Regions from separate parts of the Homo sapiens genome. Here all the other regions are linked to region 1. Evidence: promoter capture Hi-C in 16 types of primary human blood cells and fetal thymus (Javierre and others, 2016). All regions are on one chromosome and are shown on one strand. The core of a region is centred on a gene start or on the middle of the fragment in contact, and the rest is flanking DNA. Distances in the headings are between cores, read along the strand shown. Region 1 holds the start of FAM177B (family with sequence similarity 177 member B). Region 2 overlaps DISP1 (dispatched RND transporter family member 1). Region 3 overlaps DISP1 (dispatched RND transporter family member 1). Region 4 overlaps DISP1 (dispatched RND transporter family member 1). Region 5 has its middle 6.1 kb from the start of HHIPL2. Region 6 overlaps DISP1 (dispatched RND transporter family member 1).

Region 1 (3,482 bases), core at 416-2,915:
CATCAATTGTTTTATGCTTCATGGGTTCATTAAATATTCAACGCTCCTTGTTCAGTTTCTACTTATGTTTATTGGCACCTATCACTTCTTAATCTCAAAGGATTTTGATTGGCCTGTTTATGTCTCGTGCTTAGTAATAGCCAACATGATACAGTATTTGTACTATGGTACGCTAAGCTAAAGAGTGTATCATTATCGCTGTACAATAATCTGTAGAAAACTCTATTCCTTGCAAACTTGAGGCAGCACTTTTAGCGTTGTATAAATGCATGCAGAAATAATACCATATTCAGAATTCTTTCAGAATTAGAGTACTCATGCTTTAGAAAATACTGGGTTTCTTATCTCTTAATGTGTGTAAAATAAACTTGGAATGTCACTTTGGGTTACCATAAGTTTGTATCTAAAGATTTTATTTGACATTTGAATAATTTGCTTAAAATTTAAATATTTAAGAATGTTATAGTAATAAAGGGATCAAAATAGTTAATCTGGAAGGGGAGTTGACAAATTATAAAACAGAAAACTATATTTGATTGTGCATATCCAAAAAGCCAGAGCTATCACTTCAGCAATTTAATGTATCTAATGCCTGTGATTTGCTTGAGGTCGGTAGAAGCTTATATAGTCACTTTCAGAGCACTCCCCTGAGAAAATGTCAAGACTTGAATTTGCTTCTCTAATGCAGAGCTTCTCAAGTAGTTTGTCTCAAGCTATTGATCGAAGCCTTCTGGGTGTCTAGCTGGGCAGCACTTAAGGTGGCTGGAGCTCCCAGGCTGGTCGCCTCCAGAATTCCAAACAACTAATTTTCTCTATCTGCCATGATGTAAAAAATGCTGTGAAACACCACAGTGGGACAGGCATGGACAGGCATGCAGGCAGTGGGGTGCATGTATGTGGTTTAATACTGAAAATAAGGATACAAAAATCCTGCCAGGTGATGCTCCTGTAATTCTCAAGGAGCGGCAGTGATTTGTTATTTCACATTTTTCCTCACTCTATCCTTGCCCCTGACACACACACTGCAAGTCACTGATTGGAGCAGGCCAGTTCCTTCAGGTGAAGGGGCCTAGAGAAATGTCGGTGAATACCCAGTGAATACCACGCTGTGAAACTCTGCATCTGAGGCACGCAGTGGGGCTTTGGTTCTCTCCTCTCACCAGGGGTTTGACCTTTCAACCACCTCAGAAAAAAGGAAAGGTGGAAGCAGGAAGGGGGACCAGCAGCTCCAGGCAAGCAATGCTAATTAGCTCCAGCGTAATGACCCAACATCAGTTCTTAGCTGAATTTTAACAGTCCATTTGAAAACATTTTCTAGATAAATGAAAATGGAAAGAGCTCTAGAAAATGTTTAAGTGTTACATACTTAAAATAGTATATTTACTTATTGAAGTTAAATGCCAAGATGTAGAACTAGTGTGTTATTTTCTTGGTACAGATTACAATGCTGTGTTTCAGTGAAGGAGCTAATTGAAATGATTAGTAGATAGATGTAATCAGAAAAATATTAAATGAAGATAGTAATTTCTAAAGCAGGAAATAAAGACAGTTACAAGTCTGTTCTTATTTTTCCAATCTGTTATATAACTCCTCCCACCCATTAACCTTAACTAAATGTATGATTCATTTGTTAAACAAATACTGAGTTCCAGCTACGTGTAAGGCATCATAGGGGCAGAAGATACAGCAGTGAACATAACAGGTAAAACCCTCCCCCTCTGCCAAGGGGCAGGACAGGGAGGAAAGGGAAGACAGAGACAGGTGGAATATGGAGTGTTCAGTGTTGGTAAGTGCTAAGGAGAAAAAATGAAACAGGAGGTAAGATGCAGAGGGTGGTGGTGAAGGCAATGGGAGGTTGCCTTGAAAGCGGAGCTCAGTGTAGTCTCCATTTGAGTTAAAGACTGGAAATGAGCAAGGAAACAGTCTAAGGAAAGAAAGACTAATAGAGCAGCCAGCAGAGAGCTCTCTGCAGAGAGAGAGGGCGGACCTGTGTGGTCAGGGAATTGCAGGAAGAAGGCCCGTGGGGTTAGAGTGATGTCAGTGGTGGGAGAGTAGTACAAGATGGCGTCAGAAAGCTCGTAGGGGTTAGGTATACAGCCTTGTAGGCCATTATGAGGAGTTTGGCTTTTACTCTAGGTGAGACGGGAACCCACTGGAGAGTTTTAAGCAAAGACATGACATGGTCTCACTTAGGATTTAACAATTCTGGCTCCTTTTCGAGCGTAGACTGGAGGGGGCCAATTAGGAGGCTGCTGCAATAATCTAGGTGAGAGACGACGGCAAGGGTGAGAGATGATAGACCAGGGTGGTAGCAGTGGAGTAATGAAAAGTATGATTCCAGAAATATCCAAGACAATTTCCTGGCAGATTTGATGTGAGGTGTGATTAAAGAAGAACCAAGAATGACTTTAGTGTTGTTGGCCTGAGCAACTGGAAGAACAGAGTTGCCATTTATTGAGATGAGAAGGCTGCCAGAAGAGTAGAGGTAAATGTGTGAGTATGTGTGTGTTGGGGGGATGGAGGGAGAGTTGCACTGAAAGCATGAGCAAAGATTTAGACAAATTAGGATTGAGATGTCCATTAGACAACTAAGAAGAGATGTCAAGCAGGTAGTTGGATCTGTGAGACTCAGGGAAAAAGTCTGACCTGGAGAATATAAATGTTACAATCATCTGTGTGTGGATAGTATTGAAAGCCACAGGGCCAAAGGAGATCATCAAGAAAGCAGATAGGAAAGAGAAGAGGTCCAATCACTGAGCCCTGGGGTAATACAATATTTAAAAGGTCAGAGAGATTATATGGCCTGTTAATTACATTATATACTTAGGAACTATCCTTCATAGTCTGTATTTGGGGTTTTTAAGAAACAAAAGGTAGAGGTGCTCCCAAGAATTAAACTGAGCCGGGCGCAGTGGCTCATGCCTGTAATCCCAGCACTTTGGGAGGCTGAGGCAGGAGGATCGCTTGAGTCCAGAAGTTCAAGACCAGCCTGGGCAATATAGGGAGACTCCGTCTCTACAAAAACTGCAAAAAAAAAAAAAAAAAGGCTGGGCGTGTGGCACGTGCCTGTGGGAGGTCGAGGTTGCACCACTGCACCACTCCAGCCTGGGCAAAAGCAAGACCGTGTCTCAAAAAAAAGAAAAAAAAAATTAAACCAAAGCCAAAAGAAGATCACTTACAAAATACCGACATCTAGGTGTGAAGCTGGCAATGTTCCCAAGGTTTTTGTAAATAAGTTGATTCCAAACTGTTCACTATTGAGACCCCTCTGTGTGACATGTACCGATTACAAAGATGAATTTTGCATAGCATATTCTAAAATGCCCATTAGGTGGCAGAAAAACATTCAGTAAACCAACTGTGAGCTAGCTAGTGCTCACTCTTGTGCTCATTCACGGTCTCTCTCTCCACTCCCCTCCAACCTCCCAAAGAGCCCTCTGAACTTAAAGATGTATATGGCTATTAATGCACAACACCATAAT
Region 2 (3,482 bases), core at 330-2,829, 250 kb after region 1:
AAATCTAAAATTTGCAGTCTAGTGAATAATGTTCAAACTTAGAACCCATATGATTTTGCATAGAGAAATTAACTATAAATAGGGCTAGGAATTTTTAATTGTAAGTTTTGGGAAACAGACATTTGTGGCAAGTGTAGTTATTCCTAATGTTTCTAGTTACTCTTGTGTCTGAAGAAAGAAATGACAGCCCAGAGATTAAAAGCCCTGACACTAGAACCAGACTATCTAGGTTCCTAGTTTTGTGACATTGAATAAGTTCTATAACTTGTCAATGCTGCAGTTTCATCTCCAAGGGTTGTTGTGAGAATTGAACAATATAATAATTTATGTAAAGCACAAGAGCAACTGGTATTCTGAATAAGGACGAGCTTGTATTTATTTATTTATTTTTATAAGATTTCTCTTTCTCTCTCTCTTTCTTTTTTCTTCCTTTCTCTCTCTTCTCTTTCTTTCTTTTTTCTTCCTTCCTTCCTTTATAGCTTTATTTCTTTCTCTTTTTTTTTTTTTTTGACAGAGTGTTGCTCACCCAGGCTGGAGTGCAGTGATATGATCTCTGCTCACTGCAACCTCCGCCTCCTGGGTTCAAGTAATTCTCCTGCCTCAGCCTCCCAAGTAGCTGGGACTACAGGCGTGTGCCACCATGCCCAGTTAATTTTTGCATTTTTGTAGAGACAGAGTTTCACCATGTTGGCCAGGCTGGTCTCAAACTCCTGACCTCAGGTGATCTGACTGCCTCAGCGTCCCAAAGTGTTGGGATTACAGGCGTGAGCCACTGTGTCTGGCCTTTTAAGATTACTTTAAAAGAGCAGCAGTGAAAAGTGCCTGTGCACATGCTCCCTTAAAGCATAATTGCTCTATATTTTAATATCCTTACTAGAATTATAATTTGAAGCAAATATCTCCACAAAGCCAGATCAATAAAGTTAAGACATCAGATTATAAAAATTGGCAGTCTATTATTAGAGACATATAGTAGCTTTTTTTCAGACTGACATTTAGAGCCACCAGAATTATTTGTAACTACTAGCATGATTTTGAAGAAATAACTCAAAAATATATGAGTAAGAATCCTATTTCAAATGAGCCAGAAATAGCCATTGCAGCAGCCAAATGAGCTAACATTACTGAGAATTTGAGAGTAGTGGTCCACAAGTTAAATATTTTGTCTTGCTTTTCTTCTAATAAAGATTCAAGAAGCCAGAAGTTTGCAGGATGCATTTTGAATTTTAGAAAACGTTCAGTTTAGTCAGCTTCTGTTGGGTACTCAGCTCATATCAAGACTTGGAAGTGCCAAAATAATAACGTGTGATCCAGGACCTCATGGAAGGGATACAGAAACAGATCTTTCAATTTGAGGTAACAAATGAGGGTGTGGGAAGCGCATCTGGAAGAAAGGGCCCAGTGTTAGGATTTGGTAATAGAGACAGTTCTGCACATGTGGGAAGAGACTAAAACCAGATTGTAGTAGCTGGAGAGTACAAGCATCAGATGTTTGTTCATTTAGTCAATAGATAGTTATTGATCAACTTCCACTGACAAGAATTTCTGCTCTCATGGAACTCACATATCTAGTGGATATGCTCACTGTAGTTTTAGCTAGAAGGAAAGTTACAGGTTTATGGGAAGTGTTTAGTTTAGTTTTTTTTTTTTTTGAGACAGAATCTAGCTCTGTCGCCCAGGCTGGAGTGCAGTGGCATGATCTCAGCTCACTGCAACCTCCACCTCCCGGGTCCAAGTGATTCTCCTGCCTCAGCCTCCCAAGTAGCTAGGACTACAGGCGTGTGCCACCATGCCCAACTAATTTTTTGTATTTTTAGTAAAGACAGGGTTTCACCGTGTTAGTCAGGATGGTCTCGAACTCCTGACCTTGTGATCCACCCGCCTCAGCCTCCCAAAGTGCTGAGATTACAGGTGTGAGCCACCATGCTCAGCCCTTAGTTTGGTTATTTTTAAGATCTGAACTGTATGAACCTGTTTATAGACTCTCACTGTTTAAGAACTCTGAGAGTAAAGGTGTGGAGAAAGGGAATAACTAGAGAAACAAAAGTTCTGAAAGACACTGATTGGAGTATGGATCCTCTGTTAAAATTTATTTTCTTTCCACTGATGAAGTGTGTATTTTATATCTCTTTACAGGCATAGATGTAGATATAAAATGTTACTTGTCATATATGAACATTATTCTGACTCTCAATAGCCTGTGGCATAAAGTGCTACTTGATCACAAAAATGAGGGGACAATGATCTTGTAACTTTCTACTACAATTACATACAAATATTTATAATCCCATTAGATATTGTATTGATAAACACCTGTATGTAGTCTACAATATGAGGATTTAATAAATTGCTGTCTTAGGTACCAAAAATATTTCTGCGAAGGGCCTTCTTTGTGCCTTCTTTGTGTTTCTGTAGTTATGCAGCTCTGATAGCCGACACTTCTTTGTGTTTTGTAGTTATGCAGCCCTGATAGCCGACTGGCCGGTGGTGGTCTTGGGCATGTGCACCATGTTCATCGTAGTCTGTGCCTTGGTTGGAGTATTAGTGCCAGAGCTCCCTGACTTCTCTGATCCATTGCTGGTAACTAACTTTTATGTTTTCTTTAGCCTAAAATCATCTCCAAATATTGTGTATTTTAATACATGTTGCATTATGTTATTTAGTAACCCATTTCTTTAAAAACCTTCTCAAGCAACAATTCTCTTTCTGAAAAGTAAAGACATGACTTTATCTGTATTATCAGGTTCTTAAAAGGTCAAGGAACTTGTTTACCCTCAAAAATCTGGAAGGTTTGCTTCTTGGTCCCCATGTTTAAGCTAAAAAGCAATAAATTGGAGAATCTGCCTTCTACAAAATTATTCTCATAAAGTCTTTAACACTGTCTCTGTTTTCTCCCAAAGAAGTTAAAGGAATTTCAGTATTACTAACAGATCACAGAGTCTGTTTTTAAGTAAATGTTTCTCTGGAGTGGAATAATGAGGAAAATATGATCAAGGATAATGAAACACTCTTTGTAAAAATACAGTGCGTAACATGATTTAATTTGATCATAATTTTTATAAGATAAAAGTAAGTATTTACTAAATGCTTAGGCATGAGTTGGAAAGATAAACTTTCTTTAGACATGTAACATACCAAAGAATCAAACTGTTTTGTCACAGCAAATAGGTGATGATTATCATGTCAAGGCATCTTGTTTTAATGCAGTCACCTCTGGAGTAGCTGTGAGGAACAGCTATATTTTCTGTTGAAAGCTATATATCACTTTGACATTGCTTTCCCAAGCTTTTATTGTAACTGTACTTAGCCTGAAATGAAATATACTAATGAGCACCTGTAATTTTGCCTTAGGGTTTTGAACCAAGAGGAACAGCAATAGGCCAGAGATTGGTCACATGGAATAATATGGTGAAAAATACAGGATACAAAGCAACATTAGCAAATTATCCCTTTAAATATGCAGATGAACAAGCCAAAAGGTA
Region 3 (3,482 bases), core at 447-2,946, 230 kb after region 1:
GTCTGAGGCAGGAGAATCGCTTGAGCTTGGGAGGCAGAGATTGCAGTGAGCTGAGATAGTACCATTGCACTCCAGCCTGGGCGACAAGAGCAAAACTCTGTCTCAAAAAAAAAGGAGTTTTACCAAAGATGGTAATTGAAGCATCAGAAAGTAATAGAGCTGACCTAGATTATTAAGTAAGTGGAATTGGGAAAAACTAACATCTGGATCAAGGATGACTCTTTAATTGTAAAAGCAGTCATAGAAATTACTAAGAAAATGCTGGGCACGGTGGCTCACGCCTGTAATCCCAGCACTTTGGGAGGCTGAGGTGGGTGGATCATCTGACGTCAGGAGTTCGAGACCAGCCTGGCCAACACAGTGAAACCCCATCTCTAGTAAAAATACAAAATTAGCCAGGCGCAGTAGTGCATACCTGTAATCCCAGCTACTCAGGAGGCTGAGACAGGAGAATCACTTGAGTCTAGGAGGTAGAGGTTGCAGTGATCCAAGATCATGCCATTGCACTCCAGCCTGGGCAAAAAGAGTGAAACTTGGTCTCAAAAAAAAAAAAAAAAATTACAAAGAAAAATACAAAGTGTTGAAAAAAAATTTAATGCCTATCCAAAAACCATCTTGAAAAATACCACAAACTAGGAAAACTATTTGCCACAATTGGGGATGTTTCCTAGCTTTAATTCAAGATTCTTACAAATAAATGAGAAACAAGTTGCAATCTAACGTAACGTAGTAGTATGGTTACAATTGTGTGATATATAAGTAATGGCAAATATAATGGAACATGTGGCTACTAAAAATCATGTTTTCAGAAGATTTTAATTATATGGAAAATGCTAATCCAAAGTGATAATACTTTATGCATCTAGTGTGATCATAATTTTGTTTATATTTAATTTCTATATTTAGGCAAAAAGGAAAAATATTCAGAGAAAATAGATCAAAAAGAGTTACAATGTTTTATCTGTGTAGTAAGAATATGGGTAATTGTGTAATTTTCTGCATTTTCTTAGGCTTCAGGAAAATGTGTTAGTTTTATAATCAGAAAACAAACCAACATTAATACAGAAAATATATTCCTCATTAAAGCTTTCCTCTTCCTTTAAAAATTAAACTTTATATTTTAGAATAGACAAAACATTAAGTGAAAAAGTCTACTAAAGGAAAATTTTTAGAATGAAAAAAGAGGGGCGTATATTGCCTTTCTGAGATAGTAAATGAGAAACTCAGGAAAAGTACTTTGGGAAATTTTTAAATACCCCTTTTAACTTGAGCACTCTTTCGTATTTGCTCTTCTGATAAAACTCACTCGGTTGGTAAACTAGACGATTCCTGAGCAATCTCAACATGACCATCTTTAGTAACCTGGCGTTATTTCCTACAGTGTGACATGCACCAGCACGGATGTGTTATTAGTGTCACCCGTTCATCAATCTCCACCTTCATCTAAGGCAGACAGATGGAGAATTCTGCTCTGTCTTCCTAGCAAGCATTTTTGAGCTCTTTTTTTTTATTAAGCCATTTATCTAGTCATTTAAAAAGTCTGTCTCTAGCCGTTCACATAAAGAGCCGGCATTATTTTTCAAAGCATTTTAAAATACTAGTTCTTGCCTACCTTATGGGGGGATCATTTTTATTGCCTATTCATGTGAAATATTTTAACATCAAATTTTGATTACAGGAACCTGGCTCACTAGCTTTAGCCATGCCAGAGTGTTGAAATACTTTAGGAGACTAAAATATGTGGTGATTTGAATTATCTAAAATTCCACAGGAAAATACAATAGAATTTCACAGCAGGAAAGGACCTTAGAAATAATTTAATCTAACTCTCCTTATTTTACAGAGGAGACTGAAGCCAAAGAGGCTAAAACCCAAGATTAACACCCAGTTTGAAACTGGTCCTCTGATTTCTCATTGCCGTCTTTTAAAAAATACATTATACTTAGAATTTGTTTCTAAAAGTTGTCACATAGTATTTGGGTGTCACTGGCATGTATAATAGATTCTGGAGTTGCAAACAGAATCTACACCGTGACAAATTGAATACAATGAATTTAAAGTTTTCCCTGGTTGCCCTAGTGCCAAAGTGTAAAAGGGACATTATTACAGTTTGAGGTCATGCAGCCCCAGCATCTTGTGGCTTTCCCTACTTTTCGTCAGAAAAGTCTCATTATTTCCTCAGTTTAATTATTTTAAGTTTAGTTGATTTTTTTTCTTTTCTAATCTCAGATTTTGAGAAGAAAACCTTCTAAATCAGTATTATTTTTATTAACGCTGATTGTTAGAGTTTTGCTTTGATCCTTATTAAAGCTTTTGACAATGATTTGAGTTACAAAAATTTAAATTTTAAGTTAGAGATTAAGCATGAGAAAGTTTAGATCAGGAAGAAAAATCAATTTCACTGTATATTTTTGTCCTTAAAAGCATAGCTAAAGAATTTCTATAGAAGTTTGAGGGAAATGTCTCTCCTCCTGGCCTGTAAATGAAGATATCACAACAGCTGCAAGGTATTGGTTACACCGTTGGAGTTCATTTTGATACAGTGGATTTTTTATTATTTTTTAACCCCACACCCCCCAAGTTTTTTTTTTTCATAGCAGGTGTGACTTTTAACCTTCCAAACTCAACCTTGTATGATACCGAATAATTCTGTAGGGACAAAATGATCCAAGATATGTGGGAAATGAACTTAAGAAAGATTAATAATGTTTCTGTAATTTTAAGCTTAAGTAACAGTTCTTACATTGAACACAATGTAGACAAACTACAAATTGAAACTAAGCAAATGTTGGAGGAAAAGAGAATCCGCACATTGATGAATTATGATTGTATTTATACTTTTGATCTGTGGTCTCATTGATGAAGGCCTTGTCCTGTTAACAAATGAGCAAATTTGAGATGGGATCTTAGATATAAAATACATAATTTGAACTTACTTTCAGAAATGCAAACATATCTTCACTGAGGTTATAATTAACACAAAAACTCTTTATGCAATTTGTATAGTTTATAGTGAAAATGTGGAAAGGTTTTAGTATTTTATGTAAGATCCATAAAATTTTGAAAGTGAGAAATGTGTGTGTATCTTAATGAAGGTAATAAAATATATTTGTTGAATTAGGCTTAATGTAAGTTCCAAAATGTACTTATAAAACCGTACCCTCAACCTGTAGACTAATCTTTTGAACAACTTATTTGTGTTGTAACTCAAATTATCACTAACTTCACTTCAGTAGATATTTTCGATTATAGTTTGAGGCACTTCTAATTGTACTTATATAATTATATAAAATATTAGACAATAGTGAACATAGAAATATGTTATAACATGCATAGGATATATAAACTTCGGTTTATCCAAAATGTCACCAGAATTATTTTCTTATAATGTCATATATATTTATGACAATAGATGCTTATAATTTTGATTCACATATTGATAAGATTGTCAGAGGCTTTCTAAATTACTTAAAGATTATTTT
Region 4 (3,482 bases), core at 427-2,926, 210 kb after region 1:
TAATACATGACAATGCACTGAGGGCAATACTGGTGGGGGTTATCTTAGAATGAACACTGAAGCACTTTGACTCAGGCCAGCAGGTATTATATTTGCAGAATTGTGCTATGGGCAAGGCACTGAGTGAGATGCTATCTCGTCCTTTACCCAACCAATAAAATATCCACAGAAGCAAATGTGCTCTTCGATAGAGCTGCTATCTATGTATGGGAGAACAGGGCAGTTTGGGAAAGTCTGCACAGGATGTCCTTGGTAAGGAATTCTGAAAATGAGGATGTTGTACCATGCTTTACTGCCTTTGATTATTCTACGCAACTCTTTCAGGAACTTACTGTAACAAAGGTTCTAGAGGTTGATCTCGACCAGGAACTTCAAGTCTTTTTAGTTTTCTTTATTGTGGTTTATTGCTATGTAATTTTTAAGTTCTTTTTAAATTGATAAGGTCAAGTAAGTACTTAATGAAATGTTATTCAATTAATGTTTAAGGTGTATTTATGACTTCACATTACTTTAAAGGATGTGTTAAACATTGACCGCCTTAGAGTAAAATTGTATGGTGATGGAAGATCCTAAGTGCTATCAATTTTTATTGTTATTTGCACCTATACCACAAATGGGCCCACCTGTTTGTATTTGAAAGTGTTTTCTAAAGTTTTTATTTGTTTATAAAGCACTTAAGCCATAGAGAATGTTTTAAAGAATCAATCAGATAGAAAATATAATTTTAACGTAGGCCATTTGCTACTTACCACCTTTTGTATAGTAGACTCTCTTTCATCCCCTCTTGATTCTTTAAGCTTTAATAAATCTTTCTAAAAGATTCATTATATCAACCATCTGTGTGTTTTTTTTAAAAAAAAATTCCTTTTTAGTGTTCCGATTAATAAAATTAAGGCCAGGCGTGGTGGCTTGAGCTTGTAATCCCAGAACTTTGGGAGGCTGTGGCAGGCCAATCACTTGAGGTCAGGAGTTCGAGACCAGCCTGGCCAGCAATGGCGAAACCCTGTCTCTGCTAAACTACAAAAATTAGCCTGGTGTGGTGGTGCGCACCTGTAGTCCCAGCTACTTGGGAGGCTGAGGCAGGAGAATTACTTGAATCCGAGAGGTGGAGGTTGCAGTAAGCCAGGATCGTACCACTGCACTCCAGCCTGAGCGACAGAGGGAGACTCTCAAAAAAAAAAATACATAAAATTAAAATAAAGATTATTGCAAGGATCACATTTAATATGTCTATTTTAATTATTGCCAAATATTAAGTAGCTTAAATCGATTTTATTTTAAAGCTTTAGATTTCATTTTAAAGCTTCAGGCTTTTATATTTGTAGATTCCTGTCCTCATATACATTATTCAGCCCTTAATTAACATGTCTAATTGAGAACAATAAGGAATTTTATTTTATCTTATTTTATTTATTTGTTTCTTTTTGAGACAGAGTCTTGCTCCATCGCCCAGGCTGGAGTGCAGTGGCACGATCTCAGCTCACTGCAACCTCCACCTCCTGGGTTCAACGGATTCTTCTGCCTCAGCCTCCTGAGCAGTTGGGATTACAGGCGCACACCACCACGCCCAGCTAATTTTTGTACTTTTAGTAGAGATGGGGTTTCACCATGTTGACCAGGCTGGTCTTGAACTCCTGGCCTCAAGTGATCCGCCTGCCTCAGCCTCCCAAAGTGCTGGGATTACAGGCATGAGCCACAGCGCCCAGCCACAATAAGGAATTTTAAAAGGCTGAAAATAGTCTCTCCTCACCATGAGGCAAGACTTATACCAACAAGTCCTAAACCTAGCTGATCATCTTTGGAGTCACCTGGGGAATTAAAAATAAAATAAGTAGAATAAGAAGATATTTCTTTTGCAGTAGAAACAATAAATAACTCTAAGAGTTGAGAGGTGGGAAGGATCCCCTGGAAGGATCCCTGTAGGTTATTGAGGTTAGGGACAGTCTGACTGAGAAGAACAGAACATGAATGGCCCTTGAAAGATGACTAGAAATGAATGAAGGGACTCGAGGAGGCAAAACATGGAAAGTGGAGGAAAGTTGTGAAGGGAAAGCTTTCAAAAACCAAAGCTTTAAAATATTTCTTAAAACATGTAAGAAAGGGCCAGGCGCAGTGGCTCACGCTGTAATCCCAGTACTTTGGGAAGCCGAGGCAGGCGGATCATGAGGTCAGGAGATCGAGACCGTCCTGGCTAACACAGTGAAACCCCTTCTCTACTAAAAATACAAAAAATTAGCTGGGCGTGGTGGTGGGCACCTGTAGTCCCAGCTACTCGGGAGGCTGAGGCAGGAGAATGGCCTGAACCCGGGAGGCAGAGCTTGCAGTGATCTGAGATCGCACCACTGCACTCCGGCCTCGAGGACAGAGCGAGACTCCGTCTCAAAAAAAAAAAACCCATGTGAGAAAGGTAAAGAGAACAAGATTGTGGGAGCGGAGGGTCATTGTGGGTGTCCCCAATCTACGTCCTGAACAGTCCATTTGATGATCTGTTCTTTATCCTCCAGAGAGCTGGAAAATACCTCTCAAAAGCCAGTCACATTCCACGTGTGCTGGTTGAAGCAAGTTTTGAGTTATTCATTTGGGATCTTCTTATTGCCGTATTAAAGTGAAAGAGTAGTGGTATTATTGCAAAATTAATAAGGAGTTCTGCATCCAAAAATAGCACACTAGAGTTCTAATCTAAACTATACTTACCTTTTAATTCGGTGTTGCAAAGAAATATTCTTGATTGTAACAGAGGACTCCATAAATGATACTTGGCAATGCCACAGACTCATTATCATGATAGGGAACCTGTGATATTTTTGGGTACCTGCCAAATGCATTTTTATTTACCTAAGGTGATTTCATAGACAGATGGCCATTTTGAATGTTTCATGTGACTCACTAGAGGAATTAGAGCTATACAGAGTTAAGAATGCTTGGCGTAGAGGGAACCGTAGAACCCTGGGACTAGCTTAGCCTCTTAAAGTTAACTAAATATTGTCCCTGCCACCCCCATATGTTATGACTGTATAATTTTTATAACTTACATTTCCTTTCATTTCTTTATTCATTTTCTAATTTCTGACTCATTTTTCTCAGAGGTTTTCTTTTTGTTTCCCCTTAGGGCATTAGTTATTTTCTATGAAGGGGCCTCTTTTAAAACAAAAAAAAAAAAGTAAGAAATGAGAATTCTCATGTTATATTAAAAAGACAAGAATTCTACCACCAGAATTCTTGTTTATTGGCATGTGCTGTACCATGACATCCTTTCCCCTCTCCTTAGCCCTGGTGATTGTATTATTTTGTTAGTCAGAAAATTTGAGCCAGAAATCACTTTGAACACTTCATCAACATTGTGGCATGAACCTGATCATTGACGCAGATCCCACAGTCTCTGCTTTACTCAGATCACCCAGAGTCCATTCAAATGCTTCTCTAAGATGTTGCAGCAATGAATGGAGAAATTCAGAGTTAGTTATTCACTTATTTAGCAAGTG
Region 5 (3,482 bases), core at 1-2,500, 180 kb before region 1:
ATATATGTAATTATATAATAATCATGCAATAATTTTACAAAAGATGTCTTGGTGTCAATTCAGTAAATACATACTATTTTGTGTGAAGTATTATGCTGGAATAGAAATGTTTAACAGAAAACTGACATATAAAACAAACTTTTTCAAGGAGTTTATGCTCTGAGAAAAAAGGATGAAAGTATCCAAATAATACTGGCAGATATAAGATTAAGGTAACAGTAAGGGAGGAACAAACTGCCATTAGGGATCCCAAGGACGGAGAGATGACATTCGGCTGCAGGGGATTAAGAATATCATAATGAAAGTTGACTGGAGCTTTTAGATAAGTTATAGATGGAAAAGAACAGAAAAGACATTTTCACTGAACATTAGGTGAGCTTATAAAATAACTCTGAAACTATAAGCTAGGACCAGACAGAGTATCTGAAATCACTTCAGTTTCCACTTTTGAAGCAAACATAATCCTTTAAAAAATTAGCTTGGGCTGCTGTTAACACAGCCACAAACTTGGTGGCTTAAACAACAGAAATGTATTGTCTCACAGCTCGGGAGCCCAGAAGTCTGAGATTAAGATGTTGGCAGGGTTGGTTCCTTCTGAAGGCCGCAAGGGACACTGCTCCATGCCTGATCCCTAGCTTCGTGGGGTCTGCCAGCAATCTTGCATTCCGATTGTGGATGCATCACCCCAAGCTCTGTCTTCATGTTCACATGGTGCTCCTTCTCCCTGTGTGCGTTTGTGTCCAAATTTCCCCTTTTATAAGGACACCAGTCATACTGGATTAGTGCCCACCATAATGACTTCATTTTAACATGATTGTCTCTGTAAAAACTATCCCCAAATAAGGTCACATTCTGAGGTACTGGGGGGTAGGACTTCAACCATTCTTTTTTAGGGGACACAATTCAGCCCACAGCAGTAACACACACATTCACACACACGCACACAGTTTCATATAGCATGTGCCTTTTAACATCCCCCCCGCCGCCCCGCACAAGACAGGGTCTCAGTGTCACCCAGGCTGGAGTGCCAGTAGCTGGAACTGCAGGTGTGTGCTACCACGCTCAGTTAATTTTTACTTTTTTTTTTCTTTGTAGAGACGGTGGTTTCACCATGTTGCCCAGGCTGGTCTTGAACTCCTGGGCTCAAGTGATCTATCCCCCTCGGCCTCCTAAAGTGCCGGGATTATAGGCATGAGCCACCATGTCCAGTGCAAGTGCCTTTTAAAAAGTGATGTTGAGAGTCAGGTGTTTATCCTAAATCAGGTCATGGAACACAACAGAAAAAATATAAAAAGAAATGTTCTAGCTCAGTAGCTTCTCATATAGTTTACTGATGTAACTATCTATCTGCCTTCAGACTCCCTCTGTCACAGTCTAAAGATGAACAGGTTGTACCTCAGATTAGAGAAAGTATAACAACTCACTTGTACGAAGCATTACAGTTTACAAAGTATTTCCCCACACTGCATTTCATTTGATCTTCAGTTCTCTCAAGACAATTAAGTCAGCAAGGTAGATATATTACCAGTGAGCATATGAATGAATGAAGTCCAAGAGGGGTTCAGTGAAATATTTTAGGGCCCCACTTTAGATGAATAGAGATGGCAACACAATTCAGGTGTTCTGAATTACAGCCCAGATCTTTTTCATTCCATCAGGATGTACCCAAAAAGAACGAAAGTAGTTATCACTTTTATTTGTTCTTCATTTGGAAAAATTTGTCTGATGCAGCCTACTGAAGAGTGTATTGACTGAAGATTCAGTTCCATTGATAAGATTATCTGGGAGTTCTTGGTATAGGCAGGAGGGGAGTTGTAATTAAACAACTGGCAGTGGTATCACTATGGGACTGACGGGCGGAAACAAAGAGCCGCCTCTACTCACTGAGCTAAAGGCTACCTTCATAACTATGAAAACAACATAGAAGTCAGCTTCGTATTTTTTATGGGACTGAGTCGACTCTTACCTGGTGGCAGATTGGTTTAGAAGCATGAATCTTGGATTGACTTATTCAGATGTTAGTCATATTATTTGTAGACCATCCATCAAAGGTCTTGCTTGTTTCCTTTTGGAATATTTAAAATACAAAGATTCTAATTCAATCCAGCAGAAAAAGCCCTTGTGCTGTAAATATAGGTAAATAACTGGGTCCAAAAGGGCACACCTATCTGTTTTTTTAATTTTTGTTGCTTTTCCTTTTTCAAAAATGTTAACATAAAACAATGTTTCTATTTATTGAGAAAAAACATTTACCAGGACCCATGCTCAGCACTTTACATCAACCTTTCCAGACCATCCCATTTTACAGAATAAAGGTGAGGCCCAGGCTAGGTGGGGGGCTTCAGTCATGCTGGAATTTGAACCCAGACCTTTCTGACTCCATAGAACATTCTTTTATTTCTTTTTATGAGGGGAGGTGGGAAGGGAATGGGGTGTTGACAGCTTTACAGAGATGTAATTCACATTCCATATAATTAATCAGCTAGGGACTAATAATCCAAAATATAGAAAGAACTCATACAACTCAATAACAAAAATATAATTCCACTTTAAAATGGGCAAAGGACCTACATAGACACTTCTCAAAAGAAATTCAAATTGCTAACAGGTATATGAATAAGTGCTCAACATCTCCAGTCACGACGGAAATGCTAATCAAACCAGGAGATACAGCCTCACACCTGGTAGAATGAATCGTATCAAAGGTCAAAGATAAGTGCTAGGGAGGATGAAGAGAAGAGGAAGCGCTTGTATGCTGCTGTTGGGGATGTAAATTATGGAAAACAATATGGAGGTTCCCCCAAAAAATTGAAAATAGAAATATCTGGGTATATACCCAAAAGAATTGAAATCAAGGTTGCAAAGAGATATCTGCACTCCTATGTTCATTGCAGCATTACTCAACGTCCTTTGATGAATAAAGATAGGGTTTATAAAATTACAATTACATACTGCTCAGCCTTATAAAAGGAAGAAATCCTGCCATTCAGAACATGGAGGACATTATGCTGAGCAAAATTAAAATAGGCAAGACACAGAAAGAGAAATACTGCACGATCATCTCACTTGTATGTGAAATCTGAGTCCAATTCATAGAAGCAGAGGGTAAGATGGTTGCCAGGGGCTGAGGGAAGGGGGAAATGGAGTGATATTGGTCAAATGGTACAAAGTTTCAGTGATACAAGATGAACGATTTCTGGATATCCAATGTCCAGCATGGTGATGACAGTTCAGTACTGTATTACATACTTGTAATTTGTTAAGAAAGATCTTATATCTTCTCATCACACATACATACACAATACATACATAATGGTAATTATGTAGAGGTAATGAAGATATTAATTAGCTTGATTATAGTGATAATTTCAGAATGTATATCAAAACATCAGGTTGTACATCCTAAATATATACATTCAGAGGTTTCAAGGAGAAAACAAGACTTTAAATTATCTTTAGTTATTGCTAACGTGTCTTAAAAT
Region 6 (3,482 bases), core at 708-3,207, 150 kb after region 1:
AAACCCTCAAAATCTAAGTAGGCTAGTATTAAATAAATTGATGTTTAATCCTTTGAAAGCCAGGGTTTTGCTTGGTATCTAGTTACCTTGTATACCTTGTCTGCTGAACTGATTGAGGATGGGTGATTCTGTTTTCTTCCAGGAAATGCTTTTCCTCAGTTCCTTAAGCCTCCTGTTTAAAGGGAACTCTTTCAAGAGATTTTCTGATTAAAGATGAGAGAATGCAAACAGTAGCACTTGGGATAATATCTTCTGGCTTTTGTGATACAATTTTTCTTCCAAATGTAAATTTTTCATTGGGTTGGTTTATCATTTTCCCCATGCAACTATTTTTTTTTTTTTTCACAGAGCCACGTTTTATTATAACTACATGAACTATATATGCCTTGGGGCAAAGACTACACAAAACACAGAAACAGGAAATGCCTGTTAGGTTAAGAGACATGGGATAATGGGTAAAAATATCTTTTAAAAATTACTTACTGTTGTCAGCATTACTGCAGTAATATAAAATGAAGACAATTTCTGATTTCATTATCTTGAAAACTTCTTTTACACTTGTACTTTTCCATTTTGTTGTTTCAGAGCAGAAACCTTAACCAAGGAAGTAGTGAAGTTCTGTATTTTTATTCTATGAATTTAAATCATTTTGAAACCAGTCATAGCTTAGAGCTGTGCCTTTCAAGCTGTTTTATTGGCATATGTTTCTAAATATTAAATATCAACTGGAAAGTAGAAGTAAATTAATGTAACTAAAAAAGATTTACTTTAGCATATGAAAGGTTATCATCTCCAAACTGTTAATATTTACAAGTGATTTTTTAAAGTGATAAGCTTCCTTATAGTGAAATACTTATTAAGTAGGCTCATTTATTCAACATGTATAATTATTTATTGCTTTCTATATGACCAGCTTTCTATATGTTAAGAACTGGATATATAATCATTAGTGAGCAAAACATTTATGGGTTCTTCTATTGGAGTTTATGCATTAGTTCATTTGGTAGATAATTGTTGAACACCAACTATGTGCCAGACACTGTTCTATAATTTAGGGTTGTGCTTTGTGGAGGGAGAAATAAGTAATAAATGTGGTAAGTGCTTAAATAAATGATTAAGATCATTTCAGATAGGGATCAGTACTTCAAAGTGAGTAATACAGGGAGAACTAATGAAGTACCTGAGCTGATCTACTTTACAGACTAGTAGAGGAGATAATTTTAGTATAATTAATCACATAGATAAATATGATAAATGCTGTAAAGGAAAAGCAATGAGTGTTTATGAGAGCTGATAAATGAGGGAGATAAGGGATAGTTCATTTTGGGGGAATCGGGGAAGACTTCTGGAAGAAGTAACATTTGAGCTTAAATCTGAGCTACAACTAGGTGTTAGTTTTCTAGGGCTGCCATAACAAGTATGACAAACTGGGTGGTTTAAACAGCAGAAATGTATTGTCTCTCAGTTCTGGAGGCTAGAAGTCCAAGACCAATATGTAGGCTGGGTTGGTTCCTTCTGAGGGCTATGAGGGAGAATCTGTTCCATGCCTCTCTCTTATCTTCTGGTGGTTTGTTGGAAATCTTTGGTGTTACTTGGTTTGTAGACACAATAGCCTGATCTGCCTTCACATTCACATTGTGTTCTCCCCATGTGCTTGTCTGTGTCCAGATTTCCTCTTTTTATAAGGACATCAGTCATACTGGAGTAGGGACCCACCCTACTCCAGTATGAACTCATTTTAACGAATTACATCTACAACAGCTTTTATTTCCAAATAAGGTCACATTCTGAGGTACTGAGGGTTAAGACTTCAATATATGAATTTGAGGGGGACATAATCCAACCCGTAATACCAGGAGTTAGCTAGATGAAGAGAGGAGGGGGGATGACTTTTCAGGAAGAGAGAACAGCATGTGTGAAGGTATTGTGTTGGAGAAGCATGGCTCATTTAAGAAATGAAGTGTAGCTGAAGCATAGAAACTGAGAGGAAGAGTGAAGTGACAATTCCGGAGACATTTTGAAGGTAGAATAGATAGAGGGGACCTAATGACCAGCTGAACATGCTGTGAAGGAAGGAATAATCAAAGATAATTTCCTACCTATAGCTGTGATGAAAGTATTTTCACCATTTTCAGGTAGAGATATCCAGTAGAAAGATAGAAATTTCTTTCTATAGATCAAGGGAAAGATTGAAGCTGGAAATAAGGATTTGGAAGTAAACTATATTATAGGTCAAAAGTAGGCTAAAATTACTCAGGAAGAATGCTTTTAGATGAGAGGGCTGAGACCTAGAACCTTAAAAAACATCCATATTTAAAGAGGGGGCCAGAATAAAAAGCCAACAAAAAAAACAAAAAAGCAGGAAAAACAATATGCAGTAAGAAAAAGTAGATGGATTACTGCTTGGGAAACCAAGCTAGAAGAGAGTTTTGAGAAGGAGGGATTGGTTGATGGCATCAAATGCTACATGAAGGTAAAGTAGGATGAGACCTGGAGAGAGATCTGATCTCATTTGCCAGTTTGAGGTGATTAGTGAGTACAACAGGTTATAGAATAGTGAAAGTGGAAGCCAGGATTTGGGTGTGTGTGTGTTGAGGAGTAAAAGGCCAATGGAGAAGAAGAAGGAGTAAATATAAACAACTATCTTAAGAATTGGCAATGAAGGGAAGGTGATACAGGGAAGCACATACAAGTTTTAGAAGATGGTAGAGAGCTTAGGAAGATCTTGTATGACTGAAAACCAAGAGCAAGAAAATTAATGGGGGTGGGGAGAGGAGAGGAGAGGAGGGAGTGATACCTTACATAAAGATACGTAAGAGAAGTGTTCCCATTTAGGATTTGCTTCCTGGCATTTCTCAGGAATTTTATGTTTTTCTAGATTCCCAAATGCTGAAAAATTTGGTGGGGAAATCAGGAAAACAGGCAGGGTATTGTAATTTTCCTTCACGTTTAGCAGTCAAGGCAGAGGTTACTGATTAAATTCATGGACATCAAGTCTGCAGCAACAGCAGGAAACATGACACAGAGAGTCAAAGGTTAAGATGGCTATTTCTGGGAAGCTGGAGAGGAACACAGGACAGAAAGCTTCACGTCTTATTGTGGCTTTGCCGTGTACTAGTGTGTATTCCTAGCCCTGACTACTGCTAATGGTGAATCATTCTTGCAAATAACGTAAGTATGAATAAGCTTATTCACATAGTATATTTTGTATATGATTCCAGTGAGTGGTGTCCCGAGAAATAATAAGTTTTGACAGCAAAATCTTAAATTGGTCATTTGGACATGTGATTCTTTGTAATGCTATTAATGTTGCTAGGAGATCTGAATGTTACGTTACTTGAATACTATACCTAATAATGTTTGCTGAGGGCTTCCAGTGTTTGGTATCTGCTACAGGCTACGATTATTTGTAAATACTTTTGACAGAATAAATGCAAGAGATGATCACAGTGTGGCTATGGAACACTTTGATGTGAAATCAG

The links. The method cuts DNA at HindIII sites, captures the fragments that hold promoters and counts their contacts. A CHiCAGO score of 5 or more calls a contact.
Region 2: a fragment that was not itself captured here is called in contact with the fragment with the promoter of FAM177B in region 1 in 3 of 17 cell types (naive B cells, total B cells and megakaryocytes); the score reaches 10.2 in naive B cells.
Region 3: a fragment that was not itself captured here is called in contact with the fragment with the promoter of FAM177B in region 1 in 3 of 17 cell types (naive B cells, total B cells and megakaryocytes); the score reaches 7.1 in naive B cells.
Region 4: a fragment that was not itself captured here is called in contact with the fragment with the promoter of FAM177B in region 1 in 1 of 17 cell types (naive B cells); the score reaches 5.4 in naive B cells.
Region 5: a fragment that was not itself captured here is called in contact with the fragment with the promoter of FAM177B in region 1 in 1 of 17 cell types (neutrophils); the score reaches 5.2 in neutrophils.
Region 6: a contact is called between a fragment that was not itself captured here and the fragment with the promoter of FAM177B in region 1, in 1 of 17 cell types (naive B cells). The highest score is 5.3, in naive B cells.

What each region holds. Positions count from the first base shown.
Region 1 is chr1:222,735,537-222,739,018 of GRCh38, forward strand. It overlaps FAM177B (family with sequence similarity 177 member B), which reads left to right and starts at 1,666. Exons shown (of 6, transcript NM_001394345.1): 1 at 1,666-1,786; 2 at 2,368-2,485. RefSeq lists an enhancer at 908-1,449 and a silencer at 3,379-3,428. The HindIII fragment of the contact is 3,071 bases long and covers 618-3,482 here.
Region 2 is chr1:222,988,169-222,991,650 of GRCh38, forward strand. DISP1 (dispatched RND transporter family member 1) reads left to right here. Exons shown (of 9, transcript NM_001377229.1): 5 at 2,457-2,580; 6 at 3,352-3,479. Among named protein-coding and RNA genes, the nearest start is that of TLR5, 150 kb to the right of the region's middle. The HindIII fragment of the contact is 3,407 bases long and covers 1-3,283 here.
Region 3 is chr1:222,968,830-222,972,311 of GRCh38, forward strand. All of the region lies in intron 3 of DISP1 (dispatched RND transporter family member 1), which reads left to right. Among named protein-coding and RNA genes, the nearest start is that of DISP1, 160 kb to the left of the region's middle. The HindIII fragment of the contact is 1,224 bases long and covers 1,085-2,308 here.
Region 4 is chr1:222,948,219-222,951,700 of GRCh38, forward strand. The region is part of intron 3 of DISP1 (dispatched RND transporter family member 1); the gene reads left to right. Among named protein-coding and RNA genes, the nearest start is that of DISP1, 130 kb to the left of the region's middle. The HindIII fragment of the contact is 750 bases long and covers 1,302-2,051 here.
Region 5 is chr1:222,552,425-222,555,906 of GRCh38, forward strand. It overlaps a transcript of TAF1A not described here. Among named protein-coding and RNA genes, the nearest start is that of HHIPL2, 6.1 kb to the left of the region's middle. The HindIII fragment of the contact is 6,553 bases long and covers 1-3,482 here.
Region 6 is chr1:222,889,232-222,892,713 of GRCh38, forward strand. All of the region lies in intron 1 of DISP1 (dispatched RND transporter family member 1), which reads left to right. Among named protein-coding and RNA genes, the nearest start is that of DISP1, 76 kb to the left of the region's middle. The HindIII fragment of the contact is 2,250 bases long and covers 833-3,082 here.